Linked DNA regions of Homo sapiens: region 1 is linked to region 2. Evidence: promoter capture Hi-C in 16 types of primary human blood cells and fetal thymus (Javierre and others, 2016). All regions are on one chromosome and are shown on one strand. Each heading gives the region's core, a stretch centred on a gene start or on the middle of the fragment in contact. The rest is flanking DNA. Distances are from core to core; before and after follow the strand shown. Region 1 has its middle 190 kb from the start of ATP5MC3. Region 2 holds the start of LINC01116 (long intergenic non-protein coding RNA 1116).

Evidence for each region. Contacts are between HindIII fragments. The CHiCAGO score rates a contact against its expected background, and 5 or more counts as called.
Region 1: a contact is called between a fragment that was not itself captured here and the fragment with the promoter of LINC01116 in region 2, in 1 of 17 cell types (M2 macrophages). The highest score is 7.3, in M2 macrophages.

The regions. Positions count from the first base shown.
Region 1 is chr2:175,370,129-175,377,073 of GRCh38, reverse strand. No RefSeq gene overlaps it. Among named protein-coding and RNA genes, the nearest start is that of ATP5MC3, 190 kb to the right of the region's middle. The HindIII fragment of the contact is 1,678 bases long and covers 1,751-3,428 here.
Region 2 is chr2:176,635,853-176,642,199 of GRCh38, reverse strand. LINC01116 (long intergenic non-protein coding RNA 1116) reads left to right here and starts at 4,591. Exons shown (of 5, transcript NR_188023.1): 1 at 4,591-4,738. LINC01117 (long intergenic non-protein coding RNA 1117) reads right to left here and starts at 4,446. Exons shown (of 4, transcript NR_110599.1): 1 at 4,192-4,446; 2 at 2,627-2,709. RefSeq lists an enhancer at 3,257-3,771 and a silencer at 3,932-3,981. The HindIII fragment of the contact is 4,643 bases long and covers 843-5,485 here.

The DNA.
Region 1 (6,945 bases), core at 1,340-3,839, 1.3 Mb after region 2:
CTAACAGGTTTCTGTGGGACCAACCCTATGCCTGTGGAGTTTTCAGCCAAAAGGTGCTAGCATTGCAGTCCAGGATGTTTGTGGGAACTTCTAGTCTTTCTGACATTTTGTTATCCTGGTTTTTTACTTTGGGGATGTGACCCTCTTGGACAATCATTGGGAAGTTTAAAAAGGTTGTTCAGTGTGTGTCCCTAACCTCTTACAACCCACAGCCAAAGCAAACCAAGCAACAAAAAGATGAAGGGGAAATAAGAGGGAAATCAAGATCAGAGTGGAGCAAGGGAAGGGCAATTTCATAAGCTGTGGGCCTGTCTGACATGGGGTCCGTTTGTAAACTGAATCTGGTATTTTTGTCTTTTCTTTTCTTTTCGTTTCCTTCCTTCCTTCCATCCTTCCTTCCTTCCTTCCCCCCTTCCCCTTCCCCTTCTCTTCTCTTCTTTTCTTTTCTTCTTTCTTATAAGGTCCTGAGGAGAGAGCTTTCCCAGCTTATTTCTAGGCCAGCACTGAAGCTCAGTGATCTTTTGACTGGGCTCTGCAGCTGCAAGAGACATTGGCCCTATCAGGTCTGCACCCGGCAAGTGTGAGAGCCTATAATCATTCCAGGCAAGTGAGGGCCTAGACCAGGCAAGTCAGGCTAGAGGCAGGACAAAGAGGGCAAACCAAACAGGAAAGCTGTGTGTGTGTGTGTGTGTGTGTGTGTGTGTGTGTGTGTGTGTGTGTGTGTGTGTGTGTGTAAAGCTACATGTCCTGTCTTTCACTCACTTCAGTTCCCTGGTGGGATGTTTCTCTGTCAACATTAGTATCAAGCACTTGAGCACAAATGAAAGTTGGTTTTATGGAAGCCGTTTAAATGGATGCTAAAATGAATCTCTAGAAATCCGAGTGTCCAGGCCCAGGTGGAAACTCATTGTCTGCAAAGTGGGGCACTCATGCCAGGGATTCCTAGATTATCAAAAAAATATCCAAACAACTCTCTTTCACATTCAAATAAGTAAGAGGACCAATAAAGCTTTCTCTCCCTTAAAAGTACTAGCATTTTACAACTGTAAAAGGCTCCACCATAGTCTATATGAAACCCTGATTGCACATGAAATGCCCAGTTAAGCTTGGGGGTTTGGCCACACTGTAGTCTTGCTACAGTACAGGCCACATATTATGGAATTCAGCTTTCAGGATTTCAGACTAATTAGAGAGGCACCCAGTAGCACTATGCGGGTTCTGTCAGCATTTCCACTATAAAACCCCCTTTTCTGGGATTTATAACTTAGCCAATAAAAGATAGCCCCAGGCTGGAATGTGCCACGCAAAAAAATTCAACCTAGGAACAAGATTTTTTGTTTTAAACTAAATTTCATTAAAAATAAGTTCTTGTAAGAACAGAGTAATAAAAATATGCTGGTTTCATTATTTCTGACGTTTTCAACTCCTTGCTTTGTTTAAAAATAAAAAAGGAAAAAATAAATGCATTTTCCAGGCATCAGGTCTAGGTCTCTTTTGGTTGGTGTGTATTTTAATGAAAAATATTTGAGTTATTGGGGCTTAGAAGAAACTATTGCTTGCCACACACTAGTTTTGTTTCACATTTAACATTTTGTTTCAGATTTAACCCAGCTCAAATCGGTTTGGAAATAGAGTGTGCGATGCGTTGAATCATAGGGATTTTAATGGTTTCTCATGATTAGCACGTTAACCACCATCACATTGTAGAGTAAAATTCTAAATACTAGTAAGGCTTACTGAAAGCAAAGCTTTAGGATGACACTAGTGTTTTACATTGTCCATTACTGCTTATAAATGACAACTCCATTTTATACATCTTGGCAAGAGGAAATGGGGAAAGTACAATTTCCATATACTTACTATTATATACCCTTATGTACAAATAAAATTAAACATTATCTCCTTAGCTTTAGTTTATTTTATCCTTGCTAATTATAATTGTGTCTTCTTTGCAGACATTTTATCTTAAAATATTAAAACAGAAGGAGTATTCAAATTTAGCCAAAAACCAAAAAGAAGGTAAAGGAAGGGAAAACCAATATATCTTGAGCAATTAGTCTTATGCCTGCCAGTGTTTTAAGTGCTTAATATGTGTATTCTCAATAAAAATTCAGAGCAATCTCATGAAAATAAGGTCCTGGGAAGTTAAATAACTTTACCTGTGGTCACAAAGTTAATTGACAAAGCAGATATTCAAAGTCAGTGTGTCAGATTCTAAAGACTGTGCTCTTTCTGTTATCATTTACTGTAGAGTCGACTTTCTCTTCCTTAAGTTCATTTATTATAAGACTATTGCCTGGTACATTTCCTCAGTTTCTACCCACAATAACTTTTATATTACCCTTGCTTCTAGTTGGCAGAACTTTCTATTCTTAAAGAAAATGGTGAGAGTGGAGCTAAATTTCTGAGCATTAGATTTCCAGTATGCCCTACTTTCATGGCAACCCCAATAAGATGAAGAACCAGAAAGGCTCTTCCAGAGAAATGCAAAGTGCCCCTTCTAAGGAAACTGTCAAGATTCTCAGGTTCACTCAACAGAGAATTAAATGCAACTTTGAATACTCCAGAAAAGGGCCCTCTAAAAGTCCCTGTCAGCCTGGCCAACATGGTAAAACCCTGTCTCTACTAAAAATACAAAAATTAGCCAGGGTGGTGGCACGCGCCTGTAATCCCAGCTACTGAAGTCTGAGGCAGGAGAATCGCTTGAACCCAGAAGGCGGAGATTGCAGTAAGCCGAAATCACACCACTACACTCCAACGTGGGTGACAGAGCGAGACTCCATCTCGAAAATAAATAAGTAAATAAATAAATAAATGTCCATGAGAGCCCTTTTACAGACAAGCTGAAACTGGGTCTCTCTTTACTAAGGTACACTGACTTCCAGTATGTTTGACTTCAAGGCGTCTGACTTAAGAAAGAGTTATTTTATGCTTTTTTTTTTTTTTTTTTTTTTTTTTTGCAACTTACCACTGAGCTATACCTCTCTACAGAACAAGCTGCATTTGCACTTTTGGAGGCCAATGTCACCTGCGACCTCCTTTTGTCCATTCATATGATATACACTGGGAAGAATGGCTGGGAGTGTCCTGGGGAGTCCCTACTCTGCCAGATGACTTGCTCTTGGCCCCATTGATCTCTGCCCCCATGTGGGAAGGAGCTGCAGGTAAGGGCCAAGAGGCTGGAGAGACATCTCCCTAGCTATCAACCTGTCTTTCCATTTCAAAATATGCCATTCTTCTATCCAGCTACAGCCCTTGCCACAGGGATGATATTTGTGCCATCTACACATAAATGAAAGAAGTAAGGGGTACCTCCAGTAAAAATGTCCTGAATTTTGTCTATTTAAGTAAGAGCCTTAAAGGAAAACCACACGCTTTTAATGGCCTTTAACTGGTTAAAGAGAACAGTAAGTTCCCTCCCAGAAGCTTGAGAACAGAGCTCGTTTCCTTCCGGATTTTTTTCTTGGTTAACCAGACTAGGGAACAAACGAGTTGTAAAATATTTGTTAGGCTGTGAAGCTTAACAAAGAAATGTTAAACAACACTGATGATAATATTGATTTCCTTCTCTCCATTCCTGCTTACTCAGAATGACTGTCCTTGGCTTGTGGCTGTTTGGAGTTATGCAAAGTCTAGGAAGAAGTGGCCCTCGCTGACCACTGGCTGCAGTCAGTTCTGCTTAAAAATTCCCTGGCAAGGTCAACCCACAATTCCTGCCTCTGATTACACAGATTGACTAAGGTACGTTATACATGCATATGCACACATTTGTCCATTTAGGCCTGCTCAGGAAACACCCAATTTACCAAATCAGATTTAGAGGAAAGAACATTTACAGTAATTTATCCATGTTAAAAAGGTTCTCCTCTGCTTAGTAAAAGAAATCACGGCAGGGTTCCTTGAAATCACGCATTTCAAATGATTCCACTTACAGTCAACAGCTCAGCAAAACATCTATAATGCAAAATGAGGAAATGAAGCCTAAGTATACATATCATATGTCTCAAACTGATTACAGTTTTTCTGAGATATATATTCCATCTTGCATTCTTGAGGAAAAAAAATACAAGTATAAGGTTCAAGGGCTTAATGTCTTTAATTTTCTTGACAATTGCCAACAGTATGTGACATGGTGCTTTTTATAGAACCAGAGCTCAGAAAGACTCTGTTACTGAATGACTTAAGGCCTGCAGCACATGGCTCAGTGCCCATTAGGATCATAAATTACTTGAGTAATGCTAATTATTTTTTGCCTTCAGTGCTCATGATCAATATATTTGTGTGTGTGGTTTTTTTTACTTTAAATGTATTTCTTTGCATATATTAAATTTCTCAAGAGTGAGCACAGGACCAAGGGCAGAGACCAAGCATGTCACATTTTTCATTGTTTCCTCTGCACCTGCCCTGGTGAGGAGCACACAGTAGGCACTCAATATCAATTTGTTAAATAAGCAATTGGATCATTGAAAACATCTGCCTTTACTAAGGCAGGTTTAATATACTTGCAAGTATATTCCATAGCATTGCTTTGAAAACTTTTTTCTCTGAAAAACCAATGAGTTGCAGAGAAATTACTGGGGGTTCTTCTAACATAAATGAGTTCATAGGGACATGGTTAATTCCTGCCTGCTCCATAGCTATCAGATTTGCATTCCAGGAAGAAGACCCATGTAAAAGAGCTCTCCAGCTTCAGAACGCTTCAAAAGCCTAATTGCATTAAGTCAATAATACTCTGTTGAGTAATAATTTGCTACCTGACATTAAATGATGAAATGTTATAATAAAATACTAGTATGCTAAATTAAGTGCCAACTAAACAACAGTTCACAAAACCCAGATTCACCACAAGTTAAATTCTAAACCTTCTTCTTTTGATGAGCATTTTCTTCATTTTTCAGCACTGCCATTGCAGACCAGTGACTCCTGGACAACTCACTCCCAGTCTTTGCACCCACTCACTTTCCTTTGCACCCCCTTTCCCCACAGCTTAAATCTTCTCATCAGGGACACAAGCTAACTCTCATGCATGCCCTATGGAAAGCAAGCTCCTATGGGAAGGAAAAAAACAAATGTCACCAGACTCCCGAAGCATGTGACCCTGGATCCAACAGAAGACATTTCAATTTTCAGACCACTCTCTTCCATTCACCCACAGGTCTGTGGGCCACAGTCTGAACTAGCCACTTTCCTGTCTGGCTGTCAGTCTTTACTTCTCTTCCTTAAGTGAAAGAGCAAGAAAATAAAGAAAAAAGAAAAGTATCTGAAATTTTAAGGACACAGATAACAAGGAAGGGGAGTATTAAATAGTTTTGAAGTGTTTTATATCTCAGTTTTTTCTTCTTCCTTTTTTTTCTCCACCACCCTACCCCCAGCCCCACCAGGAGTGATTCTGAAGTTCTACTTTGCTTGCCAGCTCTGCACTGAGCTCTCACTTCCCAGCACTCATCAGGGATGATTACAAGCCACATTCCCTCAATAAAAGCAAATAAGGAAACAGCTTTCCTTTACCATACTGACCACATATGTGTGTAGTGAAAGTGGGAAGGAGAGACCATAATATATGTCCTAGCAACACAAAAGCACACCCTCCACTTTGCATACATATTTACCCAATTTCATCTAGAGGTCCCATGTGCTTCAATTGCTCATTTATTCTTCAACCTTAGATAAGGAGATGAGGGAGGGGGAGGGACAGACAGACCTATAGATGACAGATCTGTAGCCAATGTTGTTAGCATGCCAGATCTTATTACAGGACCATGGGAGGTCATGCACGCCACATCCAGACTCCATGGGGACCACCACATTTAAAACAAGATGAAAAAAATGTGATGTAGGGGAAAAAACCCTCATGGGCAGCCTTCAAAGGCAGAGACAGGTTGTGACTGGATTAACATTTATTGACTGTTTAAGCCTGCTTTTTTGCTTCAGGACAGAGATACATGAGTTTAATTGCAGAGGCTGTTCTGCCAACTGATCACCAGAGTGGCAACCAAAGCTTAACTAATCGGTCCTTCATTAGTGAAAAGTCTCTATTACAAAACAAATTAAGCATGCTCTGATCCTAACCTACAGGTCCAATGGCATTACGGCAAAGTTTAAGCTGTTAGAGCTGTGAAAAACTTATTAAGGGTTAGCGCTGAGATAGCACTTGGCTATTGATTTTACAATACACAGGTATTATGATTTATGGAGTGCTGGTGTCACTCTAACAAGCTGAAGGACACACAATATCATCTCCAGCATCATTAAAATTCAGAAGCCTCCAGAACTAACTCATCAACCATTGTGCATTGTCACAGACTACGGAGCCAGGCCCCAGCTTCAAAACGTCCGAAGCTTTGAGACAGTCACCTCCCTGCTTGCTTGGCAATCAGAAGTATAGACCGGCCCCTCAAAATGCTTTCAGTGCCTTCAATTAATAATCAGAGGCTATTTTCACCCTGAGTTGTCAAATATTTTGTTATTTAATTTTGCCTTTTAACATCCAGAAGTATTTTGTGCATATCTACTACACATCTGTTTAAAAAAGAAAGACTATACACCAAGGCAGTATATAATTCAGGCAAGGATCTAACTAAACCATGCCAAAAAAAAAAAAAAAAAGATTTTTTTTTTACACATAAAAAGCTGGCAGAAGTAGCTGTGGTAATCCATCAATAGATATTCAATGAGCACCAATTAGGTTCAAGTCATAGTAATAAGAGTTAATCATTATTAAGCATTTACTATATTCCAGAATTGTTCTGTCCTTTTATTTTATTAATACAGTTAATCCTCACAAAAACCTTTGAAATGAAAAGTAGTTTTTTATCTCCTTCTTACTGATAAAAATACAGAGACACAGAGAAGTTAAGTGTATAGCTGCCAGGCAGAATAGCCAATATTTCAAAGTGAGGCAGTTTGACTTCCAGGTGTTGTCTTGGGCCAATTCCTAAATGTAAC
Region 2 (6,347 bases), core at 3,342-5,841:
CAGAACACCCATCAAGTATCTTGGAAGAATGCATATCTTTAAAGGCCATAAAGAAAGAACGTTTGGTTAAAAGGAAAAACTGCTCTGCCACCCACTTGTCTGAGTTCTCCTTTCTTCATCTTTAATCAATATGTACATCTGTTCACTTGATGTTTTAATACTAGTTGAGGTAAATTCAGCTTCATCATGTTTTTCCACAGAGGGGAAAAAAGTAACCCTGACTTTTCCTCTGGGCCTTTTCAAATATCTACATGTAGTGGTGGAATGAGCGGAGGACAGGAAAGACCCTGGGAGGCAGGCCTGTGTCTCACCCCACTGGGCCTAGTATTCCAACCACCGCACAAGACTAATTCAAGAATAATAGGCCTGGGTTCCAGCCTTAATCATTTCCATTTTCATTATGGTTTACACATTAATTGTAAATGACCAGATTGATTAGGGACTCTTTAAAGCCAAACAGATTGGGAGGCAGTGCAGGGTAGTGCTAACTGTATATGTTTGACATTTCCATAGACCTGGACTAAACATCCAGACCTGTCATTTACTAGCTGTGTGACCTTGGGAAAGTCACTAGGCTTCTCTGAGCCTCATATTTTCCTTACCTATACAATAGGGATTGTAACTACCTGTATGAAAATTAGTGTGAATAAAATGAAACAATGTATGGAAAAGATTTCGCATAGTGCCTGTAACCATCGTTTATTGAATAAAAGACTGTAATGCATACTGCTCTGATATGTGTGGCATACTGTCTTACCAATTGTCTATTACTTATGTACAAAGCACTGTGGTAAGTGCTATAGAGACCCCTCAAAATTTCGGATGCTCTTTTCTCAAAAGCTTTATAACCCAATTGTTAATCAAGAAGACAACATAGAAATCCGTAGAAAAAGTAAAATTGCAGTTGGATAAAACTTCTCTTGGAGTGCTGCCCACTCTCAGTAGTCAAGTCCACACCTGAGGCTGAGAGTGCTTCAGTCATTGCTTCATGGGTCACACCTGAACCAACTAGGGCACTCAATGAAATAACATCCAATATTCATCCAACAAATATTGATTGACCTACTATGTGCCAGGCACTGTGCTAGGTGATGGATATGTCAGTCTTCCAGGAGTTTGTTTTAAGAAGCACTCAGGGTCTGTTTTAAGCATTTCATATGAATTAACTCTTTAAACTTTTCAACAAAACTAGGAGGGGGGGACTAGCATCAGTCTCATTCTACAGATGAAAAAACTAATCACAGAGAGGTTATATAACTTGTCCAGGGCCACACAGTAATAGACAGCAGAACTGGATTGGAAACAAGCAAAGTGGTTCTAGGGTCTGCCCTGGTATCACCAATACCTTACTGCTTTGTAACAGCACGTTTTCTTATGAGGAGACCATTGCATGCTTCTGGTGTGGCTCCTTTACTCCTGTTTTTGAAGATCGATTCTCTAGATGAAAAGATTGAGGCTTCACTCTTTTCTTTCCTTTCATCACTGAAGACTTGAGAAGGGACTGTGAAGTCGGTGTGGACACTAGTTAGCCCTCCATTAACACAGCTGTGTGCCATCAGTTACCATATTTAAGCCAATCTCTTGGAGTTTTGAATAAGAGTTAAAAACATACTTTGATGCATTAAATGGATCTGCCTTGGGGAGGTTTACTTCATAATTGAACACAATAGATTTTTAACTTGAAAGCTACTGCAGGCTTTTAAGTATTATTTAAATTGTCCCAGACACAAATTACTCATAAAATTGAACTGTCACTTCATAGCAGAATGAAAATTAATATGTTCCTCTTGATTCCTGAACTTGAGCATAAATTCCCTTATGCAAAACACTCTGGAATTTGGAGAGCTAACATCAGAACCTTTTTCTCTGCTCCGTCTCATATCTTGTGTCTCATGTGGTAAAAGGCAAAGAAAACAAGCCGTCAGTAGTAAGCAGAATGAAGGAAGAATATTTAGTCAGGGCCTAACATCACTTTCTTTCCTAGTTCTTTAACTGTTAGAGAAATAATTTGAAAAAGAGAAAGAAAAACTGACTCATATTTGCAAATAGAAAATACCAGAAAAGGAGATAAATGGCTGCCCAAATGATCTCAGGACATAATTATTTTTAAGGTAGGACTGCAGTCCTTCGTAAGCTCTTTTCAGAATCTAGGCCATCACAGACACACAGAAGACTATTAGACCAGGTGCTAAATTTTGTCCATGGTTAGCAAACGACATACAAAAAACTAAACTGCTTCCTTGAAGTTGAAATCAAAGAGCATCATGAGCAGCCTTATGTATTTCTGAATGGGAGAGAACACACGTGTGATGGAGGCAATCCAGAGAGAGGCGCGCTTCCCAGAGGCTGTTTTAAACAGTGACAGATTACAAAATCCTAATGTGATATGTTGGAACATGAAACACACACACACACTTGCTTGTGAAAAACCCTGCTGAAATCCTTAAAAGCCAAAGTTTAGAAGAACACGTGCTATGGATACACCAACAGTAATTTCAAAATCACTCTGTTTATGAGTCCATTCCTCACCTCTTTTATCACTTTGACACACTCTTTAGGAAATAACAGAGAAAGAGAAATATGAAGCTGAAGACAGAAAATTTAATTATAAAACAAAGCCACCCACCTTGCTTTCAGGGTCAGGAGGTACAATGGCCTTCTTTTGCAGCAAGAATGAACTTAACACCCGTGTGTTAAATGATCACGTATCTATTTAAAAGAAAAGGAAATGTTTTTTAAAAGAAATGAAAGCTATATTCTCAGTCCTTCCTATAGCCAAGTCTTACCAAAAAATAAAAATAAAAGCAGTGTACTGTGGCTCTCTGGCACAAGGCAGAAAGCCGAGTCCTTAAGTCACTATTCCCCGGTTTCGCAAAACAAAATAAAACCAAAAAGCAACAGCAAAAGGTGTTTGGCAGGTGGGAAAGGGCCTTAAAACACCTTGTGCCCTCCTGGGTCCCTCCCAATGCCTTCAGTGTGGGCTGTGGAAACAACACCGCTCAACACCAAAGTCACCATCGGCAGTTTAAATGCCACAAAAGTACACTTAGAAATGAGAAGAAAGTGGGGCCGGGCGCGGTGACTGACATGGATATGTACAGCCAACCCCACTGCCACTAGAACAGTCTTAAATGCCCACACAAGGAGTATAAAAAGAAAAGCACATTTTGCAATAGAATAAATTCTTTTTTTTTTTTTTTTTTTTTTTTTTTATTGAGACCGCGGAAAGTCACATGACCCTGCATGTAGCCTTTTAGGAAAGCAACCGAAATGGTAAAGCCAGGAGCCGGGGCTGCCTGCTTCCTCCTGCAGCCTTTCAGCCCGTCCTGTCGCGCGTCCACATTCTTCTGGGCGCATCTGTGGAGCTATTAAGTGGGATAATCCCTCTGGCCTTTGATACATTTCTGGACATGATTATTTCATTACTCGCAGTATATCAGTAGGATCATAATAAAAAGGACTTCTGACAACCTGCCAAGAGTTTTGTGGCCTTGTAAACACAAAAGTGCTCTAATAAAATTTTATTAAGTGTTAAAAAGTCATAAAAAGTGAAATAACATAAACTACAAAATTTACTGTCCTCAGCAAATCCTGAAAATATCTTCCACAGTAAAATTAAATTAGCATGTAATAGACAGAGAAGCAGTGTGGAGTGGATTTAAAAGAGGATCCAGGGAAAATGACACTGTAACCCAATCAGGGTCACGGGGATTTAATTCGGATTTTCCCCCTTAAATGTGGATAAATGTGCTGATTACAGACGAGAGCTCCGGGGTTACTGGAGTCTCACACATTGTCAATACTTCGGAAGAAATAATATATTGCAGATTGTAACGAGCACGGGGAGCCAGCGAAAGGCAGGGCGTCCACTAGGGCGCGCTGAGAGACCGGGAATCCCCGCAAGGGCGCCCGCGCCGCCCGCCACCCGCCGCCGCGCGCACGCCGCGCCCTCGCCCACCTCCAAATAATATTTACAGTTAGGGTTTTTTTTTTTTTTTTTTTTTTTTTTTTTGCTCTCGCCCGTGACATTTTCTCCAAATCGGAAGAAAATCAAGTGTATGTCGAGCTTTGCCGCAGGCAGCCCTTGGTCTCCGCTTTCAGATTCGGGGTCCGGGAGCGGAGCGCCCTGCCCGCGGCGGTGCTAAACTCTGGGGCCAGGGTGTGGCCCTCAGCGAGCGCCCTGGGACTGGCCGCCCCGCCGAAGGATGCCGAGGATCGGGCAAGGCCGGCGTCCGGTCTGCGCGGGGCGCGGGTGCTCTCCGAAGGCCGCGAGCCACGGGCCTCGCTGCGGGTTCAAGTGCGTCCGGGTTTGGACGTCGCGGCTCCAGGAGTGTGCTCTCTCTCCTGCCCATCCCCTCCCCGGAGTTCAGCGCATCCGGGGCCCCGGGGACCCCTCTTCCCGGCCCTCCTGGCCGCGCTGGCCCGCCCGCATGGGGCCGAGGTTCCTGGCCGACGCGCGAGGGCGCGGGCGGGTACCGGGTTCCCGTTTTTCCCAGGCCCCGATCCCCGCCCACGCACGAGGCCCCCGGCCCACGCACGAGGCGCCCACGCCCATCGTGGAGGCTCCGCCTGGAAAAGAAGTCCGACTTCCTCTCCAAGCTGCTCCGAGGGGAATGGGGAATCGGCAGGAAATGACCCGAACTGCCAGCCTGCGCCTTTGCAGCCGGCCCTCGCTTTGCTGAAGACGAGCAGCTCCCACCAAAGTCTTGCCTCCCCTTACCCCGAAAGCCCCGCTCAGGTTTGTAAAGAGGGGTGCGAGATCTGAAAAGTATTTGTCTTCTAGGGAGAGAGATGTTGGTAAGGGGCCCAGAGAAAGACGGGTCCTTTTTAGCTCATCAACGCGCCACGTCTTGCTTTGCAGCTCCAAAATGATGCCAGCGCTGCTGTCCGAAGGGTCAATATTAATGCGTTAAGTGAAATGGGAAATAAATGGACAGTGGCACATTTCGTGGCATCATTTTTACAAGGGGATGTCGAAAGTTTTAAGCTGCATTTAAGAATTAGCCACATCTTGCCTGAAAGTTAATATTTTTTGATAAACTCGTTAATAAAGCCTAGAAGAGGTAAGTTAAAGTTAGTTACCACGTAGATCCTCCAGTCTCTTGTAGAGACTTGCGCAGGTTACTAGGATGAGGACGAGTTGTATTTTTAATTTTCTAGACTAAGTGCAAAGGCATTGAGTTTTGAGGTGGCAGGGTTAATGTTCAAGGGCAAATGGAACCGCCAAGGATCTCTTGAAAAGAATTCACTTACTATTAATACTTAAGCCTGAAATAATTATAATTAATTTACAGTGGGAATTATATGCCCATGTTTTAGACTTTTTTGTTATATTAGCTATATGAAAAGGGATGTTCTTTAGTGATTAAAAGAAAAAACCACCTGTTTATTGTCATTTGCAATTTGAAATAGCCGACAGCAGTAAGGCTAGCTACAAAAGCTAACAAGTCAACTTCAGTGTGGTTTGACATTTACTGTCAAAGCTTTGAGCTCTAAGAAAAACAGAATTTAAAATAATGTATATAAATAATAAAATTTCATTGTGACTCAATGTCCCTGCCCCTGGAGAAGGGACAGATGACACTCAGTGACTGGCTTGGAACCATTCCCCCTGCAGATGCATTTGCGGATACAGTGGGCCAGGGCTGCCTCTGAGTATGTACAGCAAGTGCTTATGGACTTACAGAAACAAATGTTTTACTATTTAGGATTTTCTCAATAGTTTACACTAAAAGTTTTGCATGTAGAAATGTGGGATAAATATTTCTTTGAAAGGAAAAGTTTCGAAAGGAAACTTTATACTTGTATTTTTTTGTGTGTTCACATTTCTAAGTTCATCTGTCTTTCAAAAAACAGATTTTCATAAATATTAAAATATTGCAAGTATTATTTTTAATTCTTTTGAGTGCCATGTTTGCTGTAAGTAGTTTTTTCTTTTAAGTAAGATTAATATAATCCTGTCTAAGGAGTTTAATAGAGAGAACAGGATTTCCAAGCCTATAAATGCAGTCTATATAAAATAGTGGGATCAAAGTTTTTTGTTAAGAAACTTGAGAATTTATACATTTTAAATGAAGATAGAAGCACGTTTTAAAAGTAGTTTTTCCACACCATTTCCCTCCCCCCAAAAGAATTCAGAAACTATATTCCATAGTCTAAAAATGGCATAATCAGATGTAAAAATTATTACCATAATATATAGTTTTCTCAAGATGGTGGATACTTTTTAATATATTATGAAGAGTTATATTCTCAGCCCACTGTGTGTTTGAGGGAATGGAAAAGACAAGATGTTTCTAAACATATTTTACTACTGAAATCCATAAGACTATTAAGCTGTGCAGGTA